Regions from separate parts of the Homo sapiens genome. Here regions 2, 3 and 4 are each linked to region 1. The links are contacts of gene promoters, found by promoter capture Hi-C in blood cells and fetal thymus (Javierre and others, 2016). All regions are on one chromosome and are shown on one strand. Each heading gives the region's core, a stretch centred on a gene start or on the middle of the fragment in contact. The rest is flanking DNA. Distances are from core to core; before and after follow the strand shown.

Evidence for each region. The method cuts DNA at HindIII sites, captures the fragments that hold promoters and counts their contacts. A CHiCAGO score of 5 or more calls a contact.
Region 2: a fragment that was not itself captured here is called in contact with the fragment with the promoter of MRPL46 in region 1 in 2 of 17 cell types (activated CD4 T cells and naive CD4 T cells); the score reaches 5.6 in activated CD4 T cells.
Region 3: a fragment that was not itself captured here is called in contact with the fragment with the promoter of MRPL46 in region 1 in 8 of 17 cell types (activated CD4 T cells, total CD4 T cells, naive CD4 T cells and 5 more); the score reaches 10.3 in activated CD4 T cells.
Region 4: a contact is called between a fragment that was not itself captured here and the fragment with the promoter of MRPL46 in region 1, in 8 of 17 cell types (activated CD4 T cells, naive CD4 T cells, non-activated CD4 T cells and 5 more). The highest score is 11.5, in activated CD4 T cells.

The regions. Positions count from the first base shown.
Region 1 is chr15:88,465,855-88,468,874 of GRCh38, reverse strand. MRPL46 (mitochondrial ribosomal protein L46) reads left to right here and starts at 1,487. Exons shown (of 4, transcript NM_022163.4): 1 at 1,487-1,725. The coding sequence starts at 1,498. It overlaps MRPS11 (mitochondrial ribosomal protein S11), which reads right to left and starts at 1,167. Exons shown (of 6, transcript NM_022839.5): 1 at 1,093-1,167; 2 at 851-967. The coding sequence starts at 1,157. RefSeq lists enhancers at 1,317-1,486, 1,953-3,020. The HindIII fragment of the contact is 6,788 bases long and covers 1-3,020 here.
Region 2 is chr15:88,688,331-88,691,350 of GRCh38, reverse strand. No RefSeq gene overlaps it. Among named protein-coding and RNA genes, the nearest start is that of ISG20, 51 kb to the right of the region's middle. The HindIII fragment of the contact is 1,174 bases long and covers 829-2,002 here.
Region 3 is chr15:88,670,968-88,673,987 of GRCh38, reverse strand. No RefSeq gene overlaps it. Among named protein-coding and RNA genes, the nearest start is that of ISG20, 33 kb to the right of the region's middle. The HindIII fragment of the contact is 5,777 bases long and covers 1-3,020 here.
Region 4 is chr15:88,652,394-88,655,413 of GRCh38, reverse strand. The region is part of intron 3 of ISG20 (interferon stimulated exonuclease gene 20); the gene reads right to left. Among named protein-coding and RNA genes, the nearest start is that of ISG20, 15 kb to the right of the region's middle. The HindIII fragment of the contact is 2,269 bases long and covers 329-2,597 here.

The sequences.
Region 1 (3,020 bases), core at 238-2,737:
TCACGCCTGGCTAGTTTTTGTGCTTTTAGTGGAGACGGGGTTTCGCCATGTTGGCCAGGCTGGTCTCGATCTCCTGACCTCAAGTAATTCGCCCACCTTGGCCGCCTAAAGTGCTGGGATTAAAGGCATGAGCTACTGCACCCGGCCAGGAGTTAGACACTTATGATTTCATACTTCCAACCAATGCTTACCTCCATTATATTATTGAGCAGATTATGGTTAAAATGTTTGCATGTTTGTCTTCCCTCAAAGACTGTGAACTACTTGTGGGGAGGAATGATCTTTTGTATCTGTATTCACGGCACCTAGCATGGTGTCTCACTCATAGTAGATTCTTGGTAAATGTTTGTTAAATGGATGTGAAGTTAAGTGGATGTGTATACAGCATACAGAGGTGGTGGCACTGGTGGGAAGCAAGATGCCAGTTCCTAGGGCTGAGCACAAAACCCACCCTGGACCATCCGTAAGACGTGCAGGAACATCTGTTCCATCGCTAGCGCCCTCTACCTCCCCATTTTGTTTTGGAGGCAGGGAAGGTTATTGGTCTGAAAAGATCTCCATCTCAGAAGAAAAGAACGCTGATACATGTTATGGATATCTCACATTCACTCATTGATTTAACGAATGTTCACTGAACATTTACTCTGTACCACGGCTCATCTGATTCTCACAACCTCTCTCAGCATTATCCGCATTTTTAGATGAGAAGGCTGAGGCTCAGATTTATTTGCATAAGGTCCCACGGATAGCAAGTGACATAGCTGAAAATTCACTGGTTCTGACTCTGGAGGGTGTCGGGCAAGAGTCAGGGGTTGCGGGTCTCCAGAGGGCTGGTCCAAGTGGGGCTCACCTGAACTTGGTGTGGCTGGGAGCCGCGTTCTGTTCAACTTTCTGCTTGGCCGCAGCGTCTTGGAGCTGTCGAGCGCCTGTGCAGATGGTCCCGGCCGGCGTTCTGGCCACGACCCTGCTGGGAAGAAAAGCTCGGTGAGGGCCACGGCCTAACGGTCACTGGGGCCCGGGTGGCTCAAGGGACACGAGTAGGAGCATAGTCCTGGAGGTGGCGGTGGGCTCGAGGGGGCAGTCATTTGTTACCCGGCTGTCTGGGGCCAAGTCCAGGACCGCAGGAACCGCGACCCCGCGTTTCTCACAGCCTGCATGACTTGAATTGACCCCAGTCAGTTTCCGTCTGCAGCGACAGTCACAGCTGCGCCGGCGCCGGTACCATGAGTGCCTGTCGGGGAGGGGACAGAAGGGAAAGTCATCTACTCTTCATTAGGTCCACTGAATATTTTTATTTCCATTTAAATGCTCAATAAGACTTTCACTGTAGTTCACCAGGGGATTCTTTCCCTTTTTTAATGTTCTGAGATGGTGGGTCACCCCCTCCATATGCGAATGGTTCGTTCTAGCAGTTCCGGGACTGAGCTTTCCCCTAGTTTGCCGCTCCCGCGGCTGAGGGATCCCTGGGAGCCGCGGTGCATTGTGGGAGAACGAAAGATGGCGGCGCCCGTAAGGCGGACGCTGTTAGGGGTGGCGGGGGGTTGGCGGCGGTTCGAGAGGCTCTGGGCCGGCAGTCTAAGCTCTCGCAGCCTGGCTCTTGCAGCCGCACCCTCAAGCAACGGATCCCCATGGCGCTTGTTGGGCGCGTTGTGCCTGCAGCGGCCACCTGTAGTCTCCAAGCCGTTGACCCCATTGCAGGAAGAGATGGCGTCTCTACTGCAGCAGGTGGGACTGAGATGCAGGGTTCAGAGTGACGTTTATTCTGCGTGACTTTGAGCGAGTAATTTCACCTCTCTGAACTTAAGTATACGGTACTTATCCGCAGAATGGTACCTACCTTACTGACTTGGTTTGGTACATAGATGTTCAACAAAAAGTGGTTTCTTTTCATTGGCCGTGTTTATTGTCACCTTAGACAACTCTTTGGAGATACTCTACTTCTTGTTCATGCAACACAATAGGGATCCTGTGGTGAACAAGAATCGGTCCGTGTCACTAGGAGCTTACAAGTCTGGAGGGAGAAAGTCTTTGTGATGTGATGAATGTTAAGAAGGAAATACAAGAGGCGGTGGGCACATCTGTCAGATGCCTATGATAAGCCTACTCTGTTTTATCTCATGGGGCTATCTGTGTGAGGGGCAAGTGAGGAAGCATGGGCAAAAACAGTGTAGTGGCTGTGAAGGTGTGAGGTCGCTACAGAAAGTGTTTGAAGGGTGATATGTTTCCTCAGAATCCGAGATGTTTTTGTCTTGGTCTGTTGAGAACTATAAACTTCTCTTCTGTGCTTTTTGCTTGATTTATTCATTTACTCGCTCGCTTGACAAATATTTGTTACTCAACCTACAGATGTTCATTGTGCCCATACTATGCATCAGAGAGTATGTTAAGTGATAGAGATGCTGTAATGAATAAGGCAGAAGTAGCTCTGGTTCTCAGAGTACTTCAGTCTAGTTGAGTGAGGGGATCAGTCAGTAACCAAATAATCATACAACTAAATGCAGACCCTGATAAGTGTTGTTAAGGAAAACACAAGGCACTATAAGAGTGTTTAACAAATACATCACATTTTGATTTTATGGTGAGTGTCAAGGAATGCCTCAGACTTTCTGAATACAGGTTTTTCTCTTTATGAGAAATGTCTCTCTGAGACAGTCATATTTAAATTGAAATCAGAAAGATGAGTAGGACTCTCCCAGAAGAAAGAATGTGAGGAAAAACATTCTAGGAAGAAGGAACAACCTCTTGAAAGTCCCTGAACAGGAAAGTCCTTGGTGAGTGAGATTCTGATCAAAGACTGACATGACTGGATTGTGGTGAGTCAGCAGGCATTGCCCAACCCAGCTCTCTGTTTTTGTAGCACTCTTGACCCCCAGTGACATTGTAACATTTTTGGCAAATGTAACTCAAGCCCAAAGTTCAGAGGACCTTTTTTTCCCTCCATTTCCTTTCTGCATGGTGTTTTGACTGTGTATCTGGTTATGTTGGGTGATAAACTTCTGAGCTTGCCAAGTGTGCCATGT
Region 2 (3,020 bases), core at 166-2,665, 220 kb before region 1:
AATCTGTTTTATACTGGAGAGTCCTCTGCAGAGCTTGGGTCTCCTCCTATCACATTCTCTAGCCTAAGTGTCTCTGCATTAAGCTAGGTGCTCCCTTTAAGAGCAGGAGCTGGGCTTGGCTTGTTAAGTCTCTAATGCTTGGCACACAGTAAGCACTTGGTAAATGGTTGTTTAATCAATGAATAAATAAAGCCTCCCTCAGTTCATACCTCAAATTTGCCTCCATCTCCAGACCTTTTGCTGTCTTGGTTGCCTATCACTGGGGAACCATGGAGCCACACGTATTGGGCTCACTCACTTCCTGTCGCATTCGATCGCCGATGCTCATTGTTTCCATGGACACACTTAGCTCTCCGAATCCCACAGCTCTCTTCTGCGTGGCCAGCTTGTTCCCTCCTCAAAGCTTTTGCACAAGCTGTTCCTTCTGCTTGGGAAATGGCCACCTCTTTCTCGCCCTTCTGCTCTCAGCTGAAATGTCACCTCTACAGAGGGACCCTTCCCAAAGTAACATCCTCCCACCACTGTCCATCCCAAGACCCTGTTTTGTTTCGCTTGTAGTGCTTATCACCACCCACAGTTACCTTGTTATGGTGCTTGTTGATGTATTTGTCATCTGGCACCTGGTTTCTGCTCTCACCACTGGGTCTCTAGGGCTAGAACAGTCCCTGGCAGAACATGGACACAACAGAGTTGGTTGAATGTATAACTTAAATCAGTAATCACGGAAGGGAGAGTCTGTCACTCAAGACAACACAGATTCCCCTGCCACGTGTCATCATATATGCTGCTGCCTCTGTTCAATCAGACGCCCTGGGGCAGAGCAAAGCTTCAAGAGACTGACCTTCTAACATAGGCTGATTCATGGAGAGCTCCCTCCAGCCGCCCAGCCTGCTCAGTGCAGCTGGGGCCCGTGAAAGAAGCCCTTGTCACCTTTCACTGTGTGGTCATTCACCGGGATTGGCTCGCCTGTCAGAGAATTTTAATTTTTTGAAAAAATTCAAACCATCTTGAAACATACAAGCCAAGCACCCAGGCACAGGTAGGAGAAGGATGAATACATTTATTCGAGGAGGCCCCTCCAGGAGACCACAGAGGCAGGAGCCAAGTCCTCCTCTCTGAAGCCTCAGCTTGTGTAGCCTTTCTTAGACTTCCTACCCAAAACACTCGGTGTATTGGTGCTCTGAGGGTGCTGGGAGCACCCAGGAGGGGCCCTGAGGATGGTTAAGGGAGCAGGAGAGAGAAGTAAGGCTGCAGTTGCTCTTGGGAGGTTCGAATGTCTGGCATTCTTGGCCCCTCCACACCATCAAGACTTTTGGATGTTTGCTCCCTGAGTATTTCACAAATCTGCCCCCACCCTCCATCCCCAAGCTGCCATTGCTCAAGGCCCACCATCACACACCTGGACTGTAAAATTACCCCCAAACTGGCCACCCAGCTTCTTGGCTGTTTTCCTGTTTTCCAGCAGGCAGAATAACAGTTCAAAAGTGGACATCTGATGGAATGACCCTCCACATCCCAATCTTAAATAACTTCAATGAAGTAGCATCACCGACAGCAAAAATTTGACTTCTTCCCTGGCATTCAGGCCCTCCAAGCTGGCCCTATCTGCTGCTCCTTCATTACCTCCCTTTCTCTTTGCCTCACTGTTATTCTTGGGAAGATCGAGGAGCTTGTGGTGTCCTGGCCACACCATGCCACTCCACAGTAGGGTGAAGGATCAGAAGTGTGAGTCTGGAAGCCATGGGAGATGGAGCTGGTGGAATCTGGGAAGGCTTCCTGAAGGAGGTGATATTGGAGTTATCACCTTAAAGGAAAAGTTAGAGTTAACAAGGCAAAAAAGAGGAGAAGGAGCTTTTGGATTAAATGATTTACTCAAGGATCCCATAGATCATAAATGGCAGAGTTGATGTTACTGATGCTTGGGTAAGACGTAGAAGGGAGAACTGAGCCTGGCATTCTAGAGGTGAGGTCTTTATGGCCACATGGGTCAGGAAATGAAGCTTCAGGATGGCATGAGGCAAGAAGCTGGACCAGAGACACTTCTGTAAAGCCAGGACCACAGGAGTCTGCAGCCTCAGAGCAAAGCTAGATAAGGAAAAATCCCGCCTATCAGCAATAGGAGACGACAGGGCTGCATATTCATCCTCACATGATCTTTGGATTAAAAAAAAAAAAAAGCAAGTCTCCACAGGAGAAATCAAAATCCTAGGACTGCTCTTTCAAAATGTACATAAAATCTAAGGTCCAACAATCCCCAGCCTGATGTGGAGGAGTGGATAGAGTGGTAGAAGAAGCTATAGGGAAAGGAGCAGGACTTCTGAAAGGTCGGAAGGTTCTGCAAAGTTTCAGGGGAGAAGAAGCTGAAGGCAGCTGTTCTCTTACCCTGAGGCAGAGGGCGAGGAGTAGGTACAAGGGAGTGGGGGAATTTATCTAAATAGGCTTGTTTACTCATGTTGTCTAGAAACTCACTTTTGATCATCTGTGTGTGACTGCTCCCTATAAGGGGAAACAATAATATTAATTACCCACATTAACATAAGATTGTGTTGGCTCCAGGCTTTGGCATTATATCTATACTGAATAAAAGCAAGCAGCTCCAGCTTATCAGGACTGCTCACTCTTTGGCCGTCCCCTAGCTGCTCTTACACTGCATACCTGTGTCTGAGTACTCCTTTCATCTGTTGCTCGGCCAGGATCTGCGAGATGGACCCGGCAACTAACAAAATGAGTACCCAACAGGTGATTGGACTGGAGTGCCCTGTAATAGGAGGAGATGCAAACGTACTCTGGATGGTTGCTCCAAAAACCCAGGCAGCAAGGAATTCTCATGGGAAAGAGGAGTCCTGCTAAAACTGAATGACACTACCCATGAGGAAGCGGTCCACTGAGTGAGGGTCAGAGGGACGAGAGCTGAAGACCTCCAATGAACAGAACGCCAATCTCTGAGAGACAGCAAAACCAAAGCCAAAAAAAAACTTAATATGATTAAACATACTAGAATAAGACACCACGAAAAAAAA
Region 3 (3,020 bases), core at 242-2,741, 210 kb before region 1:
TAGCTTTTTCTTCCTGTAGTTAGTTCTAATTTCTAAACAGTACCCGTATGTTGATATTTCTTTGCCATCCTATTTGGAATATTACGTACTGACTTCTTCCTATGAAATATGAAGATATGGCCGGGCGAGGTGGCTCACACCTGTAATCCTAGCACTTTGGGAGACCAAGGTGGGTGGATCATCTGAGGTCAGGAGTTCAAGACCAGCCCGGCCAACATGGTGAAACCCTGTCTCTATTAAAAATACAAAAATTAGCTGGTCATGGTGGTGTGCGCCTGTAGTCCCAGCTACTCAGGAGGCTGAGGCAGGAGAATCACTTGAACCTAGGGGGCGGAGGTTGCAGTGAGCCAAGATCACACCACTTCACTCCAGCCTGGGCCAAAAAGCAAAACTCAGTCTCAAAAAAAACAAACACCTGACGTCAGGAGTTTGAGACCAGCCTGGCTAACATGGTGAAATCCCATCTGTACTAAAAATATATAAATTAGCCAGGTGTGGTGGCGGGTGCCTGTAATCTCAGCTACTTAGGAGGCTGAGGCAGGAGAATCGCTTGAACTGGGGAGGCGGAGGTTGCAATGAGCCAAGATAGCGCCATTGTACTCCAGCCTGGGCAACAAGAGCGAAACTCCACCTCAAAAAAAAAAAAAAAAAAAAGAACAAGAAGAAGATATAACACACATCTCTCCTGACCCTTCCAAAATAGTTACCTCATGATTTGGGGGAATTAAATCAATATTCAATGCTTCTATTGTTATTATTATGTAAATTATGACAAAAGGGCAACATACCTACTACTTTTGTACATTTTCTCATTCTTGGCACTAGTAATTGTCTCTCTTTTTAACTTAGTTTTCTATGTGCCTAGTATTAACTCATCTCAAACTAATAGAACCTCCTTTTGGTATGATTCCCTTTTGTTATTGACAGATATTCAGGACCCCCCTCTGCACTCTAGGTTGGCTCCTCTCTGGGCTCAATACACCGCTGTCATCTGGAGACATCCTATCCTCATCTTCCCGGGAATATCTTACACCTTTCTCTTCTACTGGAGTTCCTCTTTTTCAGTTTCCTCCTCCATTTGGGTGGAGCATATCTTCCAATAGCTTCTTTAAAAAGAGATGTGGAAGATAAGTACTTGAAGGTGTAGATTTCTTAAAGCATCACTTTATTTTGTTTTCATATTTGATCTGTACTTTGCTTGGGTATAGAATTTTAGGTTACAAGTTATGTTCCTCACTTGATGCTTTTTGATGATGTAAAAATAATTTTGTTTAAAAAAAGAAATCACTTTCCCTCAGAAGTTTGAGGCATTACATCACTGTCTTCGGTCTTCTAAAGAAGTCTGGTGCCTTTCTGACTCCTGGACCTTAGTGCATGCCCCATTACTCTTCTCTGGAGGCTTCTAGGGTCTTCCTTTTATCCTCAGTGACTTAATTTCCATAGTGATGTCCCTTGGTGTGGGTCTTCCTTTAGTCATCTTGTTGAGCCTCTAGGGAGCCCTTTGTCTTAGATGATCCATACACTTCTGTTCTGATAAATTTTCCTCCTCCCTGTTTTCTCTCTTCTCTTTCTAGAATTCCTATTCATCAGATATTAAATTTCTAAGTGAAGCCTCTAGTTTTCTTATCTGTTCTGTCCCATTTTCTTTTTTGTTTTTAATTTCTGTGGGTACATAGTAGGCATATATTTTTATGGGGTACATGGGATATTTTGATACAGGCACACAATGCATGTCAGGGTAATGGGGTATCTGCCACCTCAAGCATTTATCCTTTGTGTTGCAAACAATCCAGTTATACTCTTTTACTTATTTTAAAATGTACAATAAATTATTGTTGACTGTAGCCACTCTGTTGTACTATCAAATACTATTCATCCTATCTAACTATATTTTTATACCCGTCAACCATCTTTCCTTCCTCCCCACTCCCCACAACACTTCCCAGCCTCTGGTAACCAACCTTCTACTCTCTATCTCTCATGAGTTTGGTTGTTTTAATTTTTAACTCCCACAAATAAGTGAGGACATGAAAATAAGTGGAATTTGTCTTTCCGTACCTCACTTATTTCACTTAACATAATGGCCTCCAGTTCCATCCATGTTGTTGCAAATGAGAGGATCTCATTCTTTTGATGACTGAATAGTACTCTATTGTGTATATGTACCACATTTTCTTTTTCCATTTGTCTGTTGATGGACATTTAGGTTGCTTCCAAATCTTGGCTGTTGTGAATAGTGCTGCAATAAACATGGAAGCGTGACTATCTCTTCAATATATTGCTTTCCTTTCTTTTGGGTATATACCTAGCAGTGAGATTGCTGGATCATCTCATAGTTCTATTTTTAGTTTTTTAAAAGAATCTCCAAATGGTTCTACATAGTGGTTGTACTAATTTACATTCCAACAACAGTGTACAAAGGTTCCCCTTTCTCCACATCCTTGCCAGCATTTGTTATTACCTGTCTTTTAAATAAAAGCCATTTTAACTGTGGTGAGATGATATCTCATTGTAGTTTTGATTTGCATTTCTCTGATGGTCAATGATAATGAGCACCTTTTCGTATACCTGTTTGCCATTTGGATGTCTTCTTTTGAGAGATGCCTATTCAGCTCTTTTGCCCATTTTAAAATCATATTATTAGATTTTTTTTCCTATAGAGTTGTTTGATTCCTTATATATTCTGGTTAATAATCCCTTGTCAGATGGATAGTTTGCAAGTATTTTTTCTCATTCTGTGGGTTGCCTCTTCACTTTTTTGATTGCTTCCTTTGTTGTGCAGATGCTTTTTAACTTGATATGATCCCATTTCTCCATTTTTGCTTTGGTTGCCTGTGTGTGTTGGTATTACTCAGGAAATCTTTGCCTAATACAGTGTTCTAGAGAGTTTCCCCAATGTTTTCTTTTAGTAGTTTCATAGTGTGAGGTCTTAGATTTAAATCTTTAATCCATTTTGAATTCATTTTTATACATGGCAAGAGATAGTCTAGTTTAATTTTTCTGCATATTGATATCCAGTT
Region 4 (3,020 bases), core at 214-2,713, 190 kb before region 1:
TGCAGACACAAGTATAGAGTGGGGACTTGGGATGAGGCTGAATTCAGAGGCCCCGTGACAGGGTCTTCCCTGGTCACATCCCGATTTCCAGAGTCCCCAGGTGGGTCAGTGGGTGAGAGTCTCTTGAGGTCTCTGACACTCTGGACTTAGGAGACTCAGCAGGTGGCTGGAGCTGGCCTGCCTTCAGCCCTGGGGCCAGTGGCACGAAAGCCAGCCTCCTGGGAACCAGGCTGTGCCTTCAAGTCACCTGCAGTCCCGCAAGGGAGGCAGAGGCTGCAGACTTGCTGTCAGACACACGCAGTGGCTGCAGCAGCTCTAACAAGAAGCTTCAGGACACTGAGGAGGGAGTGAGGAACTCCAGCTAGGGACACAGGGAAGGGCTGCTCAGAGAGAACACAAGGGCGTCAATAAATGGAAAGGAAAGGCCGCAAGCATTTCGGAGGCAGGGAGAGCATGTGCAGCTAAAATAAGAGGCCTGCGAGGGTGGGGGCAGGGGGTGTGTGAAAGGTGGTGTGGGGACGGATGGTGGGCCTGGATTTATCACTGAAGGCCTTGAATGCCGAAGTCGGGAGCCTAGACTTTATGGGGTAGTGCTATGGGAGTCGGGGGCCCTCGGTCCATTCAAGGGAGAAGCGATGACCATTTACCATGTCTTCCGTGCACTAGGCTGAAGTTAAACCTCTGAGCTGGATATGATTATTCCCCCATTTTACTGATGATAAAACTGAGGCTCACACACAAGCCAGCCAGTTGTGCAGCTGAGATGTGGATCTTGCAGAGGCGAGTACACAGGGCAAATCCTCAGTGCAGTCACCTTTCATCTCCCTTCGCATGCCCCGCTCAGCCCTGGTGTCCTGGCCGGTACCCAGCATGGGAGCCAGCGGGCTGTTGGACCTGGCTGCGTTTTCTTGGTGTCCCTCTGTCGAGAGAGGACTTCCTGTTCTCACAGGGGCTCCTTTTCCAGGCACTCCAGACAGGGTGTTGGGGACACCTGGTTAGACGGCCCAGCTCAAAAAGGCTTTTTCTTGTTGCCGTTATTACGCTGTATTGTTTTATTTTTTAATGTTTAGTTTTATTTTTTGGCTTGGACACCCTATCATTAATCAGCAAGCAGGTAGCATGGTGGCGTCGTCTGCGCTGTGCCTCTGCATACCTGCCCCTGTCACCATCCTTGACAGATGAGGAAACTGAGGCACAGGGAGGTTATGTGTTCTACCACTCTGCTCTATGGAGAAGGAAGCCAAGAACAGAAGCAGAATGCAGCACCAGCACCCTTTATTACCAAGTGGGGAGGTAAAGAGCCCCGGATTTGGAATCAGACAAACCCCAGGCTGCAATTCCCAGCTCCCCTGCTTATGAGCTCTGTGACCGTGGGCAAGTCACTTTTCCTCTCTGGGCCTCTGTTTCCTCTTCTGTGAAATGGGCCTGATTATACCTGCCTTAAAGGATGGAATGAGAGAACTGTGCCCAGCACCCTCCACAGGGCTTCATAAATGGCAGGGTCTTTCCTTTCCTGTGCAGCCCAGTCTACCATGCGCGCAGCTTGGCAGGGAGCCACAGGCCTGCTATTTCACTCCCTCGAGGGGCAGTAACACCACTGCCCAACTGTGACAGCTCTACCATGTTAGCTCCTTGTGTCCTGTGGGTCAGTTCTGGTCACAGTGATCAGTAGCACCACTGTCCATGTGAGCGGGGGCGGGCGGGAGGGCTGGTTTCTAGGGGCATCAGTGCAGGCAGGAGCTGCCTGGTGGGGTACTGAGCTTCTGGAACAACCAGGCTTAATGAGCCCAGGGACAGAGCCTGGGAGAAGGCCCTGGGTCAGGCTTAAGGCCCCAGACTGAGAGCCACAGAGCGGCAAGGGCTCCAGGAAAAGCCCAGCCTGGCCCTTATGTGCCTTATGTGCCTTGAGGCTAACAGGCCCAGACTCAGCCCTGTTCCCTACTCCGGACATGATTCCTACAGCTCTTGCCAGCAGGCTAGGGGCGGGCTCCGTGCTCCCCAGCCCCTCCCCGAGCCTCAGGCTTTGACTCACCTGGCCCCACTCTGTATGCCTTCTTCTGCCCTCCTTGACTAAGACCCTCCAGGCTCTGTTCAGATCTGGTCTCCTGCCCTGCCAGCCCCATCCTTCATCCTGCTCCCAGGGCACTGCCCTTCCCTCCGTCACACACTCCTTACCATGTGTGCTGATGATCTGGTTAAGGGCCACCTCCCAACCAACCAAGAGCTCAGGGACAGAGACGGGTCTTGCTCACCCTGCGTCTCTAGGATCTGGCCTAGAGCAGGCAGCAGGTGTTTAATAAAGAGCTGTTGACCTGAAGGGTCCCTGTGTACAGCCCTGGCTCTTAGTGTCTGGCGCCTCTCCCTCTGCCCTTCCCACAGGGTGAACTCCCAACCCCCCATATCCGTATGCCTTTTCCTGCCTGCTTTGCCCACCAGCCAGAAGTGCTGCGGAATCAGTGCCCAGGAGCAGCAGCAGCTGGTGGCTGATGGGAACTGGTGTACAAATATCCCAGTTCCCCGGCCCCTGCTGTGAGACATATCTGAGGTGAGGTGTGTGCTTTACATCATTGCCCAGAGTTCTATGGTGGGAGCAAGCTTCACTTCCCACAGGGTAACTGGCTTGATTTCAACAACAAAAGCAAACCTTTGTTGGGTGTTTTCCCTTCCCTGCCCTCATCCTCACTCTACCAGCCAGGGACCAGGCACAGCAGGACCTACCATCAATGCCTCAGGCAAGCTGCCCTGAGGTGTGCGAGGGCATGAGGGAGGAGGAGGAAAGGGAGGGGACAGGGGAGGAGGAAGGGGAAGAAGGGGAGAAGAGCGAGGAGGTGGGGGAGGGGGAGGGGGAGGAGGAAGGGGAGGAGGGCAAAGGGGGAGGGGAAGGGGGAGGAGGGGAAGGAGGAGGGGAAGGAGGAGGGGAAGGAGGAGGGGGAGGAGGAGGGGGAGGAGGAGGGGGAGGAGGGAGGAGAAGGAGGAGGAGAAGGAGGAGGGGGAGGAGGAGGGGGAGGAGGAGGGGGAGG